Regions from separate parts of the Homo sapiens genome. Here regions 1, 2 and 3 are each linked to region 4. Evidence: promoter capture Hi-C in 16 types of primary human blood cells and fetal thymus (Javierre and others, 2016). All regions are on one chromosome and are shown on one strand. The core of a region is centred on a gene start or on the middle of the fragment in contact, and the rest is flanking DNA. Distances in the headings are between cores, read along the strand shown.

The links. The method cuts DNA at HindIII sites, captures the fragments that hold promoters and counts their contacts. A CHiCAGO score of 5 or more calls a contact.
Region 1: a contact is called between the fragment with the promoter of OR8I2 here and the fragment with the promoter of OR8K5 in region 4, in 13 of 17 cell types (neutrophils, naive CD8 T cells, total CD4 T cells and 10 more). The highest score is 17.4, in neutrophils.
Region 2: the fragment with the promoter of OR5T1 here is called in contact with the fragment with the promoter of OR8K5 in region 4 in 16 of 17 cell types (neutrophils, M2 macrophages, total CD4 T cells and 13 more); the score reaches 16.1 in neutrophils.
Region 3: a contact is called between the fragment with the promoter of OR5T3 here and the fragment with the promoter of OR8K5 in region 4, in 17 of 17 cell types (neutrophils, total B cells, M2 macrophages and 14 more). The highest score is 34.9, in neutrophils.

Annotation. Positions count from the first base shown.
Region 1 is chr11:56,091,875-56,094,574 of GRCh38, forward strand. OR8I2 (olfactory receptor family 8 subfamily I member 2) reads left to right here and starts at 1,434. Exons shown (of 1, transcript NM_001003750.1): 1 at 1,434-2,366. The coding sequence starts at 1,434. The coding sequence ends at 2,366. The HindIII fragment of the contact is 14,451 bases long and covers 1-2,700 here.
Region 2 is chr11:56,272,886-56,275,599 of GRCh38, forward strand. It overlaps OR5T1 (olfactory receptor family 5 subfamily T member 1), which reads left to right and starts at 1,269. Exons shown (of 3, transcript NM_001004745.2): 1 at 1,269-1,287; 2 at 1,751-1,868; 3 at 2,601-2,714. The HindIII fragment of the contact is 3,205 bases long and covers 1-2,714 here.
Region 3 is chr11:56,250,893-56,253,592 of GRCh38, forward strand. It overlaps OR5T3 (olfactory receptor family 5 subfamily T member 3), which reads left to right and starts at 1,362. Exons shown (of 1, transcript NM_001004747.2): 1 at 1,362-2,330. The coding sequence starts at 1,362. The coding sequence ends at 2,330. The HindIII fragment of the contact is 3,630 bases long and covers 1-2,700 here.
Region 4 is chr11:56,158,935-56,161,634 of GRCh38, forward strand. It overlaps OR8K5 (olfactory receptor family 8 subfamily K member 5), which reads right to left and starts at 1,383. Exons shown (of 1, transcript NM_001004058.2): 1 at 460-1,383. The coding sequence starts at 1,383. The coding sequence ends at 460. The HindIII fragment of the contact is 6,274 bases long and covers 1-2,345 here.

The DNA of each region.
Region 1 (2,700 bases), core at 184-2,683, 67 kb before region 4:
AAAGGTAATATATACAGTACCTAATACTATCATCAAAACCATCAACATTTTTTCATCAACATCATAACATTTAGGGTCCATTATACAGGAAATAGAGCTCTATACTAAATAACAACTTTTGTTATTTGATATTTAGCATTGTAGATGAGGCAAAAATAATGAACTTGAAAATAAGTGAAAGATTGCTGAAACATAGGATGTTTCCTCTGGGTGACTGAATCCCAGGTACATCTAATTTTCTCATCTGCTTTTTCCTAAAATTTGTGTGTCTGTCTGTCTGTGAGTATAGTTTGCATGTTTCTCACATTGGGAAACTTGTTATTTTTTTAATGTCTGCATCTTACATTAGGCTTTAAGAAAAATGCCCTTCATGACAGGCAAGACAAAATGCCTTCATTGAATAAATGCTTGTCAAGTAAATGAATGGATAAATAGGAACACTGTGACCATGGAACACATTAAATGATTAAGTACATGTGATATATAATAAGAATAATATGTTATATTATTATTATTGATAATAATTATTATCAAGTCCCATTTGGTTACTCAAGGAGAGTGCTAAATGTCTAAACAAAGGTGATTATTTAACTTTGCTTGGCGGGCTAGTTTCAAATGCATTTATTCGTCATATATTTATGTTAAGTTAATTAGGCAATAAAGTTCTTTAGTTTCTAGCATGCCCACCTTATAATTTAATTCTTATTTTTAAATGTAACAAATCAGGTTTGTTTTACTGTTTTTAACATTTATTTATATCATTGTCTTAAAAACTGCTGTTCAGCAATGAATTGGCTAGCACCTGATGTCATAGATTAATATATGCAATATATCTAGAAACAATCATGTTGTTTGAACAAACATACATGAAAGAATTTAAACTATGTTATAGATGAAGGCCCTCATTTGGTCTTATCTCACTGAATTTTTTATTAGATAAACTGCTCTATTCATTAGATACAATTCATTTTGTTAGATAACTTGCTATATTTATTAGATACAGATTGATTTCATTAGATAAGTTGCTATATTCATTAGATACAATTAATTTCATTTGATAATTTGCTATATTTGTTAGATACAATTGATTTCATTAGATAAATTGCCAGACCCAATGACAGACAGGGGTAGAGAATGGTACATCTTAGGAGGAATTTCTACACATCTTTCCAGACATGTATTTTTTAGTCTACACAATCGTGAATTTGAGTTTTTTTCTGTATTAATGTCTGTAAGTTTTCAGTTTTATAAAAAATAAAAATTATCCGTAAATCTCTAGCTAACTTCAGGTCATTAAATTTTACTTTCCATTTGTAAAACTTTCATGATTGGAGTCTAAGTCAAATTTGATTATAGGGCCTTTAGATTTGAATCCTTCTCTAACTTTCCTTATTGTTATTCAGCAGGTAAGTCAAAGGCCTGAGTTGATGTAAATGGCTGGCAACAATTTCACTGAGGTTACCGTCTTCATCCTCTCTGGATTTGCAAATCACCCTGAATTACAAGTCAGTCTTTTCTTGATGTTTCTCTTCATTTATCTATTCACTGTTTTGGGAAACCTGGGACTGATCACGTTAATCAGAATGGATTCTCAGCTTCACACCCCTATGTACTTTTTCCTGAGCAATTTAGCATTTATTGACATATTTTACTCCTCTACTGTAACACCTAAGGCATTGGTGAATTTCCAATCCAATCGGAGATCCATCTCCTTTGTTGGCTGCTTTGTTCAAATGTACTTTTTTGTTGGATTGGTGTGTTGTGAGTGTTTCCTTCTGGGATCAATGGCCTACAATCGCTACATAGCAATCTGCAATCCCTTACTGTATTCAGTAGTCATGTCCCAAAAAGTGTCCAACTGGCTGGGAGTAATGCCATATGTGATAGGCTTCACAAGCTCGCTGATATCTGTCTGGGTGATAAGCAGTTTGGCGTTCTGTGATTCCAGCATCAATCATTTTTTTTGTGACACCACAGCTCTTTTAGCACTCTCCTGTGTAGATACATTCGGCACAGAAATGGTGAGCTTTGTCTTAGCTGGATTCACTCTTCTTAGCTCTCTCCTTATCATCACAGTCACTTATATCATCATCATCTCAGCCATCCTGAGGATCCAGTCAGCAGCAGGCAGGCAGAAGGCCTTCTCCACCTGCGCATCCCACCTCATGGCTGTAACTATCTTTTATGGGTCTCTGATTTTCACCTATTTGCAACCTGATAACACATCATCGCTGACCCAGGCGCAGGTGGCATCTGTATTCTATACGATTGTCATTCCCATGCTGAATCCACTCATCTACAGTCTGAGGAACAAAGATGTGAAAAATGCTCTTCTGAGAGTCATACATAGAAAACTTTTTCCATGACAAATTTATGTATGTTACAATTAAAACAAAGGTGGATGGCTTCAGGAATTCAGTTATGCCAACAACTAGGAAAATAGTAGAGTAACCTCAAAAAGCATAACACAAACTAAATGAGAACTTAGAGTCTTGAAGTTTGTGAATTGAATTATTATTTCATTTGTTTATATGGACCACTAACTCACTGTATTTGGAGGTCAATTCGGCATATAAATTATTCAGACATAGACATGTACAAGGAAATAAGAGGCACCTGAACATGCATATATAAGCATGCCATCACACTGAAACATGTTTAAAATTATTACATTAAGAACATGCAATTTTTGTCATTCTG
Region 2 (2,714 bases), core at 19-2,518, 110 kb after region 4:
GGTTTTTAAGGTCTTTGACTCATTTTTAAATCAGGTTGTTTGTGTTCCTATTGAGTTTTAAACAGTTCTTTGTAAATTTTAGATAACAGTCTTTTATCAGATGTGTCCTTGCAAGTATTTTCTCCTAGTCTGTTGTCATTTCATTCTTTTGATCATCCATGTATTTTTCATCACATTTTGGATAATTTCTTATGTGCATATCAAAGAACAAGTATATAGATTAGTATATCAATTCTTGAAGATAGAAAAGATCTCGCAGAACTTAAAAAATTGACCTTTAACTCTGCCATATATCTGAGTCTAATGTTCTAGTTCACAGAAAATTATTACATAGAACATCTGCATATTGCCCTAACTCTTCTGTTAATATTCTCTATTCATAGATTTACCTTATAATTATGTGCATTAATATCTCCTCTATTAATTTTTTTTTTTGAGATGGAATCTCACTCTTTCACCCAGGCTAGAGTGTGCAGTGGCATGGTCTCGGCTCACTGCCAACCTCTACCACCTGGGTTCAAGCAATTCTCATGCCTCAGCCTCCCCAGTAGCTGGGATTACAGGCGTCCACCACCAAGCCCGGCTAATTTTTTGTATTTTTAGTAGAGATGGGGTTTTTCCATGTTGGCCAGGCTGTTCTCGAACTCCTGACCTCAGGTGATCTGCCTGTCTCGGCCTCCCAAAGTGCTGGGATTACAGGCATGAGCCACCGCACCTGGCCTATTAAATTTTCAATGAAGTTAAATCTCTCTCATACCATTTAGAATTAGAGGACTGTCAAATTTAAATAAATATAGTAACCTTTATTAAATGATTATATGTCTTGTCATAGGTTATGTTTTCATATTATTTCATTATGTATGTGACAATAGGACTTCCAGATAATTCATAGGTTATAATTTCAAGAAGAAACTGAATTTTAGAGAATTTAAGTTATTAATTTGATAGCATGTAGATAATTAGAATCAGAGCTAGCACTATGGCCTGTATTATTAGCTTTCTTTTTCAGTAATATGCATATTTTTTTCCACTGGGGGATTATTTTGGACCTAGGTAGAAAGTACACTTATGTGATCATTGGAATCATGTAATGCATGTTCCAGATCAGTTACTTGTTCACTACAGAAAAAAAAAAAAATCATAATTTGTTTTATCCCAGAAGAGAATTAGTGTGTTTTCTTCTTTGGGCATCCCTGTGGAATTCTAGAGCTCAAGGGCCTGGTATAAGAATTCAAATGCACAATATTCATAGCATACCTGAATTGAGTGAGCAGTTCATTTCCAAAGGTAAGAGAAAAGGAATCTGATCACTTGTAAAATATTAAGAAGCTCTCACCTTGAATTTAAGACTAAAACATATTTCTTACTATTTAAATATAAGAAAGAGGGTTCTGTTTAATGTGAAGCTGTATTACAAATTGAATCACATACTTTCCAAGGATCATAGGAGAGAATACGTGTGTTGTTTTAGCAACAGTTTATAAAAATAATTGTATTACTTGTTATTGGATGGTATTTATTTTATAGAAATTTCAGAAGTTACGTAAGAATCATAGTAAAAGGATAGCCATAATTCATTTTTGATATAAATATGTCACAAAAATACACCCAAGGACTTCACAGGCATAATGACCAAATGATCATATAAATTGACACGTCTGATATTGGTTTTAAGTTAAAATCTGAAAAATAATAATGCTTAAAAAAACTGCACAGGCCAAAATGAACAAATTGGTGATATTTTTTTCAGGAAAGAAAAGTGAAACACAAAAGGAAAAATAAATGAAAAATGAACACCAAATTCTTTTGGTTTGCAAACAAGGTGCATCTATCTCCAGAATCAAATCTCTTGTATCCACCACCATTCTGTAAGTACTAATGCAACAGCAGGATAATTGCCAAAAAAAAAAAAAGGATTTGAAATGGTTTGGTCAGAAAGACTGTCTCAAATGATAAATTTTAATATAAGCCTGACATTGCATTTTCTAGTTATCTGGGCATATTTAAATATTAAATAACTTACATACTGTTTTTCCCATTTAAATACAACCCACTCTTATAATGTAGATATGATTGTTTCCATATTTAAAATGAGAAAAATAAAGTAATTCAATGGACTTTTTAGAAAACCTAGGAATAGCACTCAGTCTTTATGAGTTTTGAAACAATTTAATATTAAGAATAGATGGTAGTACATTTGATGGAAAATGAACAGGAAATTAAACTGATTAAATAGACTTTTTTTACACTTTAAGTTCTGGGGTACATGTGCAGAATGTGCAGTTTTGTTACATAGGTATACACGTGCCACGGTGGTTTGCTGCACGCATCAACCCGACACCTACCTTAGGTATTTCTCGTAACGTTATCCCTCCCCTAGCCTCCCACCCTCCGACCGGCCCTGGCGTGTGATGTTCCCCTTCCTATGTCCATGTGTTCTCATTGTTCAACTCCCACTTACGTGTGAGAACATGCGGTGTTTGGTTTTCGGTTCTTGAGATAGTTTGCTGAGAATGATGGCTTCCAGCTTCATCCATGTTAAAAAGATAAATTTAGTGCATGATTGAATAAAATAATTTATTTAATTTATTTAATTACAGTAATGTATCCACTTGGACCCAATTTTATCACCACCTGTGCATTTGCTGACAAGGATTTCATCTTGCTTTTCCAAGAAACGAACATGAGGATATAATTGGATAAACTTAATTTTC
Region 3 (2,700 bases), core at 112-2,611, 92 kb after region 4:
ATCATTTGTAAGTCACTGAATTCAGAATGGACCTGCATATGACAGAGTTGTCACCCCTTTTAAAACTTTCATAATCTATGACATGATAAAAGAAAAACAAAGTCACCTTGCTTAAATCTCCCCTCTAATTTTACCTCTAAATTTAGTGTATGTAGTACTAAACCGTTTCAATAACAGGTTTTCAGTCTAGATACAGAAGTCCCTGTAACCTTGTTACCTTTTTTCTTTTAATTATTTATTTATTTTTGGTTGTGTAATTGTCTTTCTTCATACTTGTCAATGTGAAACAGAATGATACCATCAGGAAAGAAGTCCAGAGGACAAACACTACTTTCTTGCAAATATAGTAATGTTATTTTTTAGCCAGATATTCTATAATTTTTATTAGTTATTATTGGTGATTTTTATTTCATAGTAATTTTAGAAACTCTAAAAGCAACTATAATATACTAAAAGAATGGCCATGATTTATTTTTAACAGAAATATAAAATAAAATAAAATAAAATACATCCAAGGACTTTGCAAAAATAACAAACATATGAATTATTAGTAAGATATATCTCACATTGTTATTAAGTTGAAATTTAAAAACAGTTATGATAAACAAGGTACAGAGGCCAAAATTTGCCAACTAGGTGATATATATTTCAGGAAGAAAAAATCCTGAAAATAAAACACATTGTAATGTTTGTAAAGGTACGTCTATCTCCAGAATACAGTCTGCTCTTCTATGTAATGGAACAAGATAATTGCCAGAACAGAGGACATGAAATGGTTTTATTTAAAAAGGCTGCTGCATGCGACAAGTTGAAATGTATGTCTGACTTATCCCCATTTTCTAGTCATTTGGAAGCCTTTTAAATTAAATAGTTTTGATATTTTTAAACATTTAAATTCAACTGTGCTGTGAGTGTGGTTTCTCTTATTTTAAAATTGTGAACATTTACAAAAGACATTTCATGTACTTCATCACAAATCTAAAAGTGTACTCAAGTGTGTGCTTTCCACTATAACATATTTAGTTTTAAATATTTCTACATTCAGCAATCTTTGTGAGCTTTAGGACATAATATGAGAGGAAGCAGTAAAAATTTCAACTGAAAATTAACTGGAAAATAAAATCACTTTAATTAGCAGGGTTTTTTAAAAACATGATAAATTTAGCCAAGAAATTAATTACATATTTTTTTTCCTTTTACTTATACAGTGAAATTCATCTATTTGGCTCCAATTACTTCATCATTGTCTATTCCATTACTATCAGGGAAATTATTATGCCCCAAGAAAAAAACAAGGATACAATTGAATGGACTCCACTTTCACAGGCTATAACCTTTATAACCTGCAAGTAAAAACTGAAATGGACAAGTTGTCATCAGGTTTGGATATATACAGGAATCCACTGAAGAACAAGACTGAAGTCACCATGTTTATATTGACAGGCTTCACAGATGATTTTGAGCTGCAAGTCTTCCTATTTTTACTATTTTTTGCAATCTATCTCTTTACCTTGATAGGCAATTTAGGGCTGGTTGTGTTGGTCATTGAGGATTCCTGGCTCCACAACCCCATGTATTATTTTCTTAGTGTTTTATCATTCTTGGATGCTTGCTATTCTACAGTTGTCACTCCAAAAATGTTGGTCAATTTCCTGGCAAAAAATAAATCCATTTCATTTATCGGATGTGCAACACAGATGCTTCTTTTTGTTACTTTTGGAACTACAGAATGTTTTCTCTTGGCTGCAATGGCTTATGATCACTATGTAGCCATCTACAACCCTCTCCTGTATTCAGTGAGCATGTCACCCAGAGTCTATGTGCCACTCATCACTGCTTCCTACGTTGCTGGCATTTTACATGCTACTATACATATAGTGGCTACATTTAGCCTGTCCTTCTGTGGATCCAATGAAATTAGGCATGTCTTTTGTGATATGCCTCCTCTCCTTGCTATTTCTTGTTCTGACACTCACACAAACCAGCTTCTACTCTTCTACTTTGTGGGTTCTATTGAGATAGTCACTATCCTGATTGTCCTCATTTCCTGTGATTTCATTCTGTTGTCCATTCTGAAGATGCATTCTGCTAAGGGAAGGCAAAAGGCCTTCTCTACATGTGGCTCTCACCTAACTGGAGTGACAATTTATCATGGAACAATTCTCGTCAGTTATATGAGACCAAGTTCCAGCTATGCTTCAGACCATGACATCATAGTGTCAATATTTTACACAATTGTGATTCCCAAGTTGAATCCCATCATCTATAGTTTGAGGAACAAAGAAGTAAAAAAGGCAGTGAAGAAAATGTTGAAATTGGTTTACAAATGAAGAATATATTTAAAATTGAGTAAACCTGAAAAAAATGTTGAGTGTCAGAGTTCACATCTCTATATTTTAGTTAAAGTATTTGCATATCAAAGAATAGTTTCAAAAAAGCATTAAGCAGCCTGCCAATGCAGCATTTTTCAAATGTAAACAAATTGCATCACATATTTGCCAATTAATTTGTTCAGAGATCTATATTAAATATTATTTGATATAAATATATTGTTATTGTTACCAACCACACACTACTAACAACAGCTTTCACAGTAAGTAAAAATCAGTTACACACTTATAACTAGTAAGTGAATCCTACAGAATCCTGGGAATTGATAAATGCTTACATGGCTGATAAAAAGTTTTTGCATTCATTGTG
Region 4 (2,700 bases), core at 133-2,632:
AAAAAGGAACAAAATAATGGCATTCACAGCAACCTGGATGGAGCTGGAGACCTTTATTCTAAGTGAAGTAACTCAGGAATGGAAAACCAAATATCATATGTTCTCACTTATAAGTGGGAGCTAAACTATGAGGATACAAATAGGTAAGAATGACATAATGTATTTTGGGGACACAGGGAAAAGTGTGCAGTGTGGGCGAGGGATAAAAGGCTACACATTGAGTACAGTGTACACTGCTCAGGTGATGAGTGCACCAAAACCTCAGAAATTACCCCAATGAACTTATTCACATAACCAGAAACCTCCTACTTCCCAAAAATTATTGAAATAAAAAACAATTAAAAAAATTTGAAAATTGGAAAATTTATATACACATGAAAAATTATCAAGTGACATTAATCTATATTATATATTTATTATAACAATATTACAAATTGATTATTAAACACAAAGTTGACATCAATTCTCAAAGAGCTTATAGAAGGCATTTTTCACCTCTTCGTTTCTTAAGCTGTAAATCAAAGGGTTAAGCATGGGGATTACTAAAGTGTAAAACACAGAAGCCATTTTATCAGTATCAAAGAAGTGAGTGGAATTGGGCTGCATGTACATGAAGAGTAGAGACCCATAGAACACAACCACCACTGTCAAATGGGAACCACATGTGGAGAAAGCCTTTTTCCTGCCCTCTGCAGAATGCATTTGACATATAGCTAACAAAATCAACATGTAGGACACTAAGACTATCAGAAAGGAGGAGATCAAATTAAATACAGAAAATAGTATGCTCAACAATTCTATTTCCTGTGCATTTGAGCAAAGCATAGGTAGCAAAGGAACATCATCACAGTAAAAATGACTGATGACATTAGAGCCACAGAAGGTCAATGTAAAAATCTTAATAGTGAACATCAGAGCCTGAAATGTGCTGTAGAGATATTGAATGCCCACCAGTACATGACACAGTCGCTGAGACATAATAACATAATAGAGCAGAGGGTTACAAATGGCCACATAGCGGTCATAGGCCATGGCTGACAGGATGAAAAATTCACTGATAATGAACATAAGGAAGAATGCCAGCTGTGCAGCACATGCATAATAGGAAATAGTATTTCGATCCACAACAAAATTTGCCAGCACCTTGGGACAAATGACAGTAGAATTACCAAGATCAACAAAAGCCAAATGTCTGATAGAAAAGTACATAGGTGTATGTAAGTGGGAGTCCAGTTTGGTCAAAATGATCATAGTTAGGTTGCCCACCACTGTGATTAGGTAGATGACGAGGAAGACTCCAAAAAGGGGAATCTGCAGCTCAGGCCGCCTTGTGAGTTCCATCAGAATGAATTCAGTTAGCACTGTTAGATTGTGTTGGCCCATTTAGTCCAGTTATCTCTTCTAGGAAGAAACAGTTGGGTTATTAGCTGTTCCATGTAGTGCTATTTAAACAAATTATAATATTTGTAGACAGAATAGATTGTTATTCACAATAGATAATAGAAACATTATTTCTACATTTGATTCAGAAATGAAATATAAAGCAAAATTTTCTACTTTCCTAAAAGAGGAATTCATGTAAAATACATGCACTGAAACAACATAGATTAAATAGTTTCATCAATATTTGAAGTATATCGGTTAATAACACAGCCATATAGGTATTATTACAAAAAGATTATGCTCTTTTCATCTGCACAATGGTATCATGATTTTCTTTTGTTCACTTCCACTTTTGTTGTAAAACTTTTCTGTAATTTTGATATTCTCAAAGACAGAGGTAGAGATGGCAATAAGATAATGAAGGTTAAGATTTGGGGTCCCTCATTTGCACTTCCAGGGTCTTGTGTGGGGACTTACGAATGCACGCAAAAATGATATATCTTTGTAAAATTTCAAATGTAAGATATAATAATCATGATCAATTAAGGCTGCTTTCTGTTTTCATTCCAACTTCTAGTATATCACACTTCAACTAATATCATAGTGACTTGACATTTCTGCAAGCATTGTGGGATCTAGCTAAAGAAGGATTGAGTTAATAATAGTTTATTTGATGTTCAATGGATATGTTTATATCATTCAGACACTATGATATTTATCACTGAATAATACTACCTATTCTGACTTAAGAATGTCTTCTAAGGATACTCTTGCCACCTGTATGCTGAGATGCATTTGGCATTTGATTAATTAACATACTATATTAATAAATTTTATATAGTTTGTGGCCATGGGTTTGTTTACTAATTACAATTTAAAGCTAATTTTCTATTCTAAATAAATATTCCCATTTATCTTTCAACTTGTATGTGTAATTTTATCTAAAAAGTCAAATTCTTCTAAGCTTCAAGACACATAATCTGGATCCACTTCTGCAAAAACATGATTTAAATCAATATTCAGTGATGACTATTTAATTATATGTACTTTATTTTCTGTAATAAAACACTGTGAAGATGGTAGGTTCTATAAATCATTTAAATAATTTGAGAATTTAGGACATCATATATTAGTGAATGACTTTTTTTCTGGAATTGTACAGTGGAGTATTCATGGAGATATAATACTGTAATTAAAACTATTTCAATGAAAAGTACTTCTCCCTTTATTTAAAAAATACACGGGAAGTCAATAAAAGAAAGTGGAACGTCCCTGATACAGATAGTGAAGATGTCTTAGCCTATTCCACTTAAATTC